Regions from separate parts of the Homo sapiens genome. Here regions 1 and 3 are each linked to region 2. The links are contacts of gene promoters, found by promoter capture Hi-C in human tissues and cell types (Jung and others, 2019). All regions are on one chromosome and are shown on one strand. The core of a region is centred on a gene start or on the middle of the fragment in contact, and the rest is flanking DNA. Distances in the headings are between cores, read along the strand shown. Region 1 overlaps CGNL1 (cingulin like 1). Region 2 holds the start of CGNL1 (cingulin like 1). Region 3 overlaps CGNL1 (cingulin like 1).

The links. The method cuts DNA at HindIII sites, captures the fragments that hold promoters and counts their contacts. A contact is called where the count stands out against the background at its distance.
Region 1: a contact is called between a fragment that was not itself captured here and the fragment with the promoter of CGNL1 in region 2, in 8 of the 25 tissues and cell types used here (aorta, bladder, hippocampus and 5 more).
Region 3: a contact is called between a fragment that was not itself captured here and the fragment with the promoter of CGNL1 in region 2, in 3 of the 25 tissues and cell types used here (liver, neural progenitor cells and thymus).

Annotation. Positions count from the first base shown.
Region 1 is chr15:57,429,640-57,432,339 of GRCh38, forward strand. All of the region lies in intron 1 of CGNL1 (cingulin like 1), which reads left to right. Among named protein-coding and RNA genes, the nearest start is that of CGNL1, 54 kb to the left of the region's middle. The HindIII fragment of the contact is 4,332 bases long and covers 1-2,700 here.
Region 2 is chr15:57,375,204-57,377,903 of GRCh38, forward strand. It overlaps CGNL1 (cingulin like 1), which reads left to right and starts at 1,302. Exons shown (of 19, transcript NM_032866.5): 1 at 1,302-1,364. The HindIII fragment of the contact is 14,520 bases long and covers 1-2,700 here.
Region 3 is chr15:57,410,432-57,413,131 of GRCh38, forward strand. The region is part of intron 1 of CGNL1 (cingulin like 1); the gene reads left to right. Among named protein-coding and RNA genes, the nearest start is that of CGNL1, 35 kb to the left of the region's middle. The HindIII fragment of the contact is 7,628 bases long and covers 1-2,700 here.

The DNA of each region.
Region 1 (2,700 bases), core at 73-2,572, 54 kb after region 2:
GCCCTCTGGCTTCTTCATTAGTTAATAAATTATTTCAGGATATTGGTGGTTAATGCTGCTTGGTTAATTAGTGGGGGTTTTTAGTCTTTTTCTCATAAGTGTTTCAAAACATTTTATGAACAAAGCCAGCTTTCTTGTGCCCATAAATGCTACATTGAAATCTTTCTCAGATCCCTCTTATTTTTTGAGACAGGGTCTCTCAGTCTATCACCCAGGCTGGCATGGGGTGGCATGATCATAGCTCCCTGCAGCCTTGACCTCTCTGGGCTCAGCTGATCCTCCTATCTCAGCCGCCTGAGTAGCTGGGACTACAGGTGCGCACCACCACACTCAGCTAATTTTTGTATTTTTCATAGAGATGGGGTCTCCCTGTGTTGCCCAGGCTGGTCTGAGACTCTTGGGCTCAAGTGACCCACCTGCCTCAGCCTCCCAAAGTGCTGGGGTGACTGGCGTGAGCCACTGCCCGGCTGATCTTCGTCATTTCATTTAGCATACAATATGTGATTTTCCTAATTACTTTATGAAGTCATCACTGACAGTCTGACTTTAGAGACAGGAAAACAGAGAAATTAAAGAACTTCTCCAGAGCCAATATTGGACTTGAGCCGCATGTCAGAAATATTTCCTGCTTCTGCATCTCGGAGTCAGGTGCCATTACTTGTCTTCAGAACCTTAAACTTTCGTAGCTTAGCTCTGCCCTGGTAGGAGAAACTTTCAGAAATCATTTTAAGCCTCAAGAGGTGAAAAGGATGAATGACTTATCTAACACTTTTTTTGGGACATGAATTCTGTATTTTTTTCAGTAACCATGAAGAATATAAAATACGAACCACTGAATTTATTAAAGTAATACAAATTAAAAAGTAAAAGTTAAATTGATAACATATGGACACCGTAAATTAAGTGGTGATATATGTGCTAATCAGTTAAGAGAAGTGGGCAAGGGAAGTGGGACCCATCCACAGGGAAACGAGGCGGGTAGACTTCCAGGGGGAAGTGGGGGCTTCTTGGGGGAGAGCCACTTGGTGCCCATGCTCTCAGGGCCAGGCCATGTGGATCAGATGAGTTGAGTCCCAGTGACTCCACATTTTCTTTTTTGAGATGGAGTCTCACTCTGTTGCCCAGGCTGGAGTGCAGTGGTGCAATCTTGGCTCACTGCAACCTCCACCCCCAGGGTTCAAGTGATTCTCCCTGCCTCAGCCTCCCAAGTAGCTGGGATTATAGGTGACCGCCACCATGGCCGGCTCATGTTTTATATTTTTAGTAAAGATGGGATTTTGCTATGTTGGCCAGGCTGGTATCGAATTCCTGGCCGCAGGTGATCAACCTGCCTCAGCCTCCCAAAGTGCTGGGATTACAGGCGTGAGCCAGTGCGCCTGGCCAACTCCAGATTTTCAGACTCCTGGTTGATTCTCCTAGGTCTCCAACCCTAGTAAAAGGAGCCTTTTTACAGGCTTTTCTTTTTTGCCATCTTCCTTTTTGTACAAGGTGGGTTTAGGGGGAAGCTGTAGCACTCAATGTTATAAGTTTATTTTTTCCCCCCAAATAGAAAAGTTTTAGTTGTCAGGTTCATTTGAAGACATTCGAACCATCCTGAACTGTGTGAAACAGAGAGCAACTCTGCTTTCATTTCCAAACCTCAAGTTTATTTTTGAAATTGTTTTCCCAGGGAGTTCTGAAGGGTTGACTGTATACAAAGACACTTCCTTTAAAATCTGAAGAGTTTGGTCAGTTTCCTACATTTGCACTACAAAACACGTAGAGAGAAAACATAAAGCTCAGTTTAGGTAAGGCTGCCTCTTTCTGTCATGTTAGGGAATACATTGAAACTAATATGTGTTTTGCTAATCTTGGCTTTCCACACCCTGATCTTTCAATTTCATCTGGTTGAGGTTCTAGTGTGAATATCCCCATACAAAATTCTGTCTTCCCACTAGTTCCACAGACACATCCTTTAGGAGTAAATGTGTTAACCACTGTTTAGCAAGCTTGTCCAACCTGCGGCCCGTGGGCTGCCTGTGGCCCAGGATGGCTTTGAATGCGCCCAAAGCAAATTCGTAAACATTCTTAAAACATTTTGAGTTTTTTTTGTAATTTTTTTTTTAAACCTCATCAGCTATCATTAGTGTTAGTGCATTTTATGTGTGGCCCAAGACAATTGGTCTTCTTCCAATGTGGCCCAGGGAAGCCAAAAGATTGGCCACCCCGGATTTAGAGGTTTTAGCTCATGTTTATCATCAGCCTGGTAGTATCTTCTCTTTAAATGAGGCAGTCACAGGATCCCACTCAGGGGAAATTACTTTTTGGTTGGTGGGTCAATTCTTATTTCCTAGAATTAAGCTCAAGACTGCACTGAGACTCATCACCTCTCTACCCACTGTATTAGATGCTCTTTTAAGTGATTTGTATGGTAAAATAGAATTACTTGTTCAAAGCAAACATACCTAGAGTCTCTGCCCCATGCTAGGTACTATGCCGATTGCTTGGGCCAGCCTGGCTTGACTGATGGGGACTCTTGTCCTTGGAGGCAAGGGCCAGCCACAGCATAAAGGTGAAGGTTTCAGATTGCCTGGTTGCATTTCCTCCGTAGCCACAGGGCCCCTGGAATGGCTGGTGAATATGCATGCAGGTCCTGGAGGTGCCACTGAGAATTAGAGTTGTGGGGCGGGGATGTGTGGACCAGCATTACGTGACTAATCT
Region 2 (2,700 bases), core at 52-2,551:
TCTTTCCTGGCAATGAATCACTATTATTAGGTCGGAGCAAAAGTAACTGTGGCTTTTCCCATTGAAAGTAATAGCAAAACTGCAATTACTTTTGCACCAACCTATTACTTTTTCAAGTCCTTTTATATTGTTTTGAATTGTTAAGTTTTCAAGGGTCTATTTCATTCAATATGTCAGCAAACATGTATTAAGTACAGGTTGGGCAGGGCGCAGTGGCTCACATCTGTAATCCCAGCACTTTGGGAGGCCGAGGCGGGTAGATTACTTAAGGTCAGGAGTTCGAGACCAGCCTGACCAACGTGGTGAAACCCCGTCTCTACTAAAAACACAAAAATTAGCCGCGCGTAGTGGTGGCCACCTGTAGTCCCAGCTACTCGGGAGGCTGAGGCACGAGAATCGCTTGAACCCGGGAGGCAGAGGCAATGAGCCGAGATCGCGCTACTGCACTCCAGCCTGGGCAAAACAGCAAGACTCCATCTCCAAAAAAAAAAAAAAAAAAAAAAAGTACAGGTTGTTGTTTTCTCAGGGAATCCTCATAGCTGGTGAAGTATCCAGCTTTTCATTTTACGGATGAGTGAACTGGGGTTTAGAACTGATAACATTTTGCCCAAGTTCTCACAGCTAGCGAGAGGCGTGCCGCAGTTTATCGTGGGGTGGGTCTAAACAAGGACCTAAAAACTGTATTCGAATCCCAGCCCTACTACCGCCAGCTGTGTGACCTTACGAGGCGCCTCACTTTACTGTTTCTCCAACAGAGACAGACATTTCTTGTTACCGCGCAAGTGGGATAACCTCCCCACCAGTGTCTAGACACAGTAGGTGCTCAATAAATAGGTGTGGGTTTGCGGTGGCAGAAGAGCGCTATCCCTTAAGTTTCTGACAGTGAGGGGGAAAAAGGCTAAGCAGGGAAAGGAAGGGAAAGGGGTAAACTGAGCTCGGCGCAGTCGAGAGCGCGAAATAGGGAGGGCTTCCTGCAGGCCAGGAATTTGGAGAGGCCGAGGCTGGGAGAAGAAAAATGCCCGGTGACGGCGGAGGGGAGGTGGAAGGACGAACGGCTCCGGGAAGGGGTGAGGTCTAAGCGCAGCCCCGGGCCCAGCGGAGCCGAGGGCGGGTGGTGCGGGGGTTCCTGGGTAGGTTCGTCCCGACGGGCCGCGGGCGGATTGAAGGGAGGGTTGGGCCCGCCGGCAGCCCCGGCGGGTCCAGGCCCCCGGCCAGCCCCTGCCCCTCCTCCCAGGAGGGCGGGCGGCGACTGCGGGGCGGGGCGCGGGCTCGCTCGGCCTCCCGGCGGCGCCGCGGCCCTTGCACTCCGGCCGGGCTCTGCTGGCTGCGGCGGGAGCTGGACGCGGGAGGAGGCGGCGGCGGCGGTGAGTGAGCTCCGGGCTGGAGCGGGGCGGGGTGTGCGCCGGCAGCCGGGTTTCGGGGTGCTAGGGGCCGCCCAGGGCGGCGGGACCCCCAGGGGTTCGGGCTCAGCCAGGTGCACTGTGCTCAGTCCGCGCGTCCACTCTCGGTGACCCGCGCCGCGCGTGTCCTGGGGCTCGAAGATGCGACCCGGACTCCCGCGCCGCGCCCCGCCGAGGGCAGGCGCAGAACAGATGCGGGCGATCCCTGGGGAACCCGCTTCGGGGCGGGGTGGGAGGGAGGAGGCCCTGCAGAACCTCCCTTTAGTGAAGAGGGACTTTCTGCCTTCGCACCCCTGCCTGGACCCTCCGGCTCTAGTGACAGCTGGGAGAGACTCACACGAAGCAGTTTCTGACCTATCCTGTCGTACACAAGTCCTCGGCGTGCTCGGCCGGACCATCCCCTGGAAAGAAAGGGGCGTGTGACCTTTCTCTCCCCGATCCTCCAGACCACTGCGCCGCCCAGGGAGGTCATCCCCGAGAGAGCCCCCGCCTCACTCGGAGCACACATTCTAGCTCTCCCCGGGACTTTTCCAAGTTGCATCACTGTTTGGCCTCTAGACAGGTACTTGGCTGTCATGTTGGAGTTAGTTACACAGGATTTTTGAAACTTTGTATATTTGCTTTGTGTGTTCTTCACCCTAAGGCCGCTGCCCTCCCGACTCTGCTTATGCCGCTCAAAACGTTGCTCAAAGCTCGCTGGGAATGCTTTTGCGGGCATTGGTTCTCAAACTTGGCCCCACATCTGGAGAGTTTTAAAAAATACTGGTGCCTGTGTCCCACTCCCAGAGATCTGGATTCGGCTTGCCTGGGTTGCAGCCTGGACAATGGAATTTTTAAGACGCCGCAGGTGATTCTAATGTGCAGGCAAGTTTGAAAACCTCTGCTTTGAGAGTTGCTCCCACCAGCCACTCTTCGGACGGCTCAAGATCAGTCCTGATCTAGAACTCATCTCAGGTCCTCATAGCTCTTCCCTAATCCACCTCTCCACCTGAAGAACCTGTTGATTGGTGCTTTCCAACTTTAGACAGTAGATGGTGCCTTTACTGAAGATCCCTTTGTTTCTACCTCTCTGTTTACAGTCAATACTGCCAGGGCACTTTCTGCCAAGGAGGTGGGAGTGTAGGCATTAGAACCGAGCAGTCCTTGTCAGGGTCAAGGTTATAATACAGGGTTGTCCTATTCAGGGAAAACCAAGTGATAATTTGACTTGTCATATTCGGGAATGATTTCAGATTAAAAGGAGAAAAAATACTTTAGGGTTTGGTCAGCTTTTGGAGACCCTCCGGAGACTCCCCCACGT
Region 3 (2,700 bases), core at 182-2,681, 35 kb after region 2:
AGGCTTGATCCCTGGGGCTGACTGCCATCATCTCTCCTCTCTTCTATTCCATGTCGCTGGCTATGTCAGCAGATGGGAGAGTGTTCTGGAAGCTTTCCCATCACCACCTCTCTCTTTCTAGGCAGGCATTTTGGCTGTGTCTGTGTGGTCCCAACATGTGTACGTGTGTGTAGCAGGGAGGGAGGAGTGAGTATGAAGAGGTCCAATAACAACAATTGAGAAAGATAAAATAAATTCTTTCCACAATATCGGAGGCTATATTATCTGCTAAACTAGTTTTTCAAAATGCTAAACTTTTGCCTCTTAATTTTCTCATGCTTATGAGGAGTGCCCTTCAAATCTTGTATTAGTCAGGATGTAATTGTATCGCTTTAGCTTCTTTTCTCTCTTGCTAAAAAAATAAAATGCAATCCTTAATAAGAGACTGAAGTTCGTAACGTTTGTGTCTTGTCAGATTCAGTGGGGAAAAATCAGATTTGCTTGAAAACAAGATGATAAATATGTGGTGTTGGTGTTTTCATACAAGAATCTAAAGATAAGCTGTAACAGCTTAGAGAACATAATTGTTACTGTACCACAAAGACCAAGTTTTTTAAAAAATAACTTTTGAAGGTCTTACTAAAATTTATCACATTTATACCATGTTGGATGGTGATATTGGCCATGTTTTCTTAATATCAAAATATGACTAAAGAGTGTCATATGTTGGACTCCATCCACAGACACAGAGACTTTTCTGACATGAGCCGGTCTCTGAGTCTTCCTTTTTAGAATACGAGCTTATTTTCTCCAGAATCATCACAGCTGTCTAGAGCCTTCCTGTTCCTCCTTTCTTGGAGTCACTGCTGGCTTCATATTTGTTCACTTGGACGTTCTCTTGTATACCAACTGTGATCTCTCTGGGGAGTCAAAACCAGATCTGGTTTTCCTTGTCCTCAGGGAACTTGCAGTTTAGCTGTTCTGATATTTGTGCCATGCACTGTCCAGATGCCACTAGTTTTCTTTTTTTCTTTTTCTTTTTTTTTTTTTTGAGACAGAGCCTTGCTCTGTCACCCAGGCTGGAGTGCAATGGCGCAATCTCAGCTCACTGCAACCTCCACCTACCAGGTTCAAGCAATTCTCATGCTTCACCCTCCCAAGTATCTGGGATTACAGGTGTCCGCCACCATGCCAGGCTAATTTTTTGTATTTTTGGTAGAGATGAGGTTTCACCATTTTGGCCAGGCTGGTCTCCAACTCTTGACTTCAGGTGATCCACCCACCTCAGCCTCCCAAAGTGCTGGGATTACAGCATGAGCCACCGCACCTGGCCCAGATCTCACTAGTTTTTTTTTTTTCTTCCCCAATTCTCTTTTGATGTGGATAATTCCACTGGCCTTTGGCTCAGCTGCTGTATAGAGCTTCTTAATATCTTAAAAAACCTCACTGAGAGCCTTGGTGCTGTCTTCCACCCCTTTCCTAGTCCTGGAAGTTTACTTATTTTAAACAAGAGCATCAAATGCTTCTTGGAAAATTCCATCAGCGCTCATATTTTCTGTGTTTGCTGTCGATTATCTAGCATTCAAAGCCCCGCTAACGTTCAGAGCTTCTTGTTGTGTGACATTCGCAGGTTTCCTTTTGGGACAGGTTTGGATTGACTTCCTTCCTCTGCCAAGAGGGCAACCAGCTGATGACAGTTTGGAGAGTTTGTGTTGGCATCAGACGGGTGCTGGTGATGTGCCTGAAAGTCACTCCTGAGATTCTCGTTTATTTCTGTCCCAGGCTGGAGTTTCACAGGCAGTGGATGTTAGTGGGTGGCCCGAACCACCCTCATCCTAGCTGTAGACAGAGGCAGCTTCACTCAGCAGGGAGCCTTTTATCCTCAAGACCTTTTCTGTACAGATAAAACGCTCAGATAAGATCTGGAGAAAACCCTTTGTTCTTTGGTGGCTCTGCATCCTCTTTTCTCTTAAATGCTGTTCCTTACTCTGCTCTCCTCTGGCCTCTTTGGTGTGATTATCTTGATGTTCTCTGTATCTGTTAAGGGATGATTGTTGTCTGAGTAAATATGAGATGGCATCTTTGATTATCACATTTCCCAGGAACCTGGCTGATGCGGGACTCCTTTCTCAAACCTGCTTGTGAATGGATAGCCAGGCCCTGTTTGCCTTCCTCCACCTCATGGGGAACTCATTGTCTCCTGAAACAGCCTAGTTTATCTTGACGCATCTCTGTGAGAAAGCTCATTTCCCCCTTTCGATTGAAGTGGAGTTTGTGTCCCTGGCACATCTACTCTTTATTGGTTGTTCTAACCTTTGGAGCCACACAGACCAAGTTTAATCTTCTTTTCACATGACAACCATTCTGGTATTCATATGTGATGAGAGTTGATCATGCTTCCAGCTCTACTCCCCTCCTTCTGTACCCAGTGCCATCTCTTAGTATCTCAGTTTCTTTTTTTTTCTTTTTGAGACGGAATCTCACTGTCACCCAGGCTGGAGTACAGTGGCGCGATCTCGGCTCACTGCAACTTCTGCCTCCTGGGTTCAAGGGATTTCTCCTGCCTCAGCCTCCTGAGTAGCTGGGATGACAGGTGCGTGCCACCATGCCCGACTAATTTTTGTAGTTTTAGTAGAGATGGGGTTTCACCATGTTGGCCAGGCTGGTCTTGAACTCCTGACCCCGTGATCCACTCACCTTGGCCTCCCAAAGTGCTGGGAT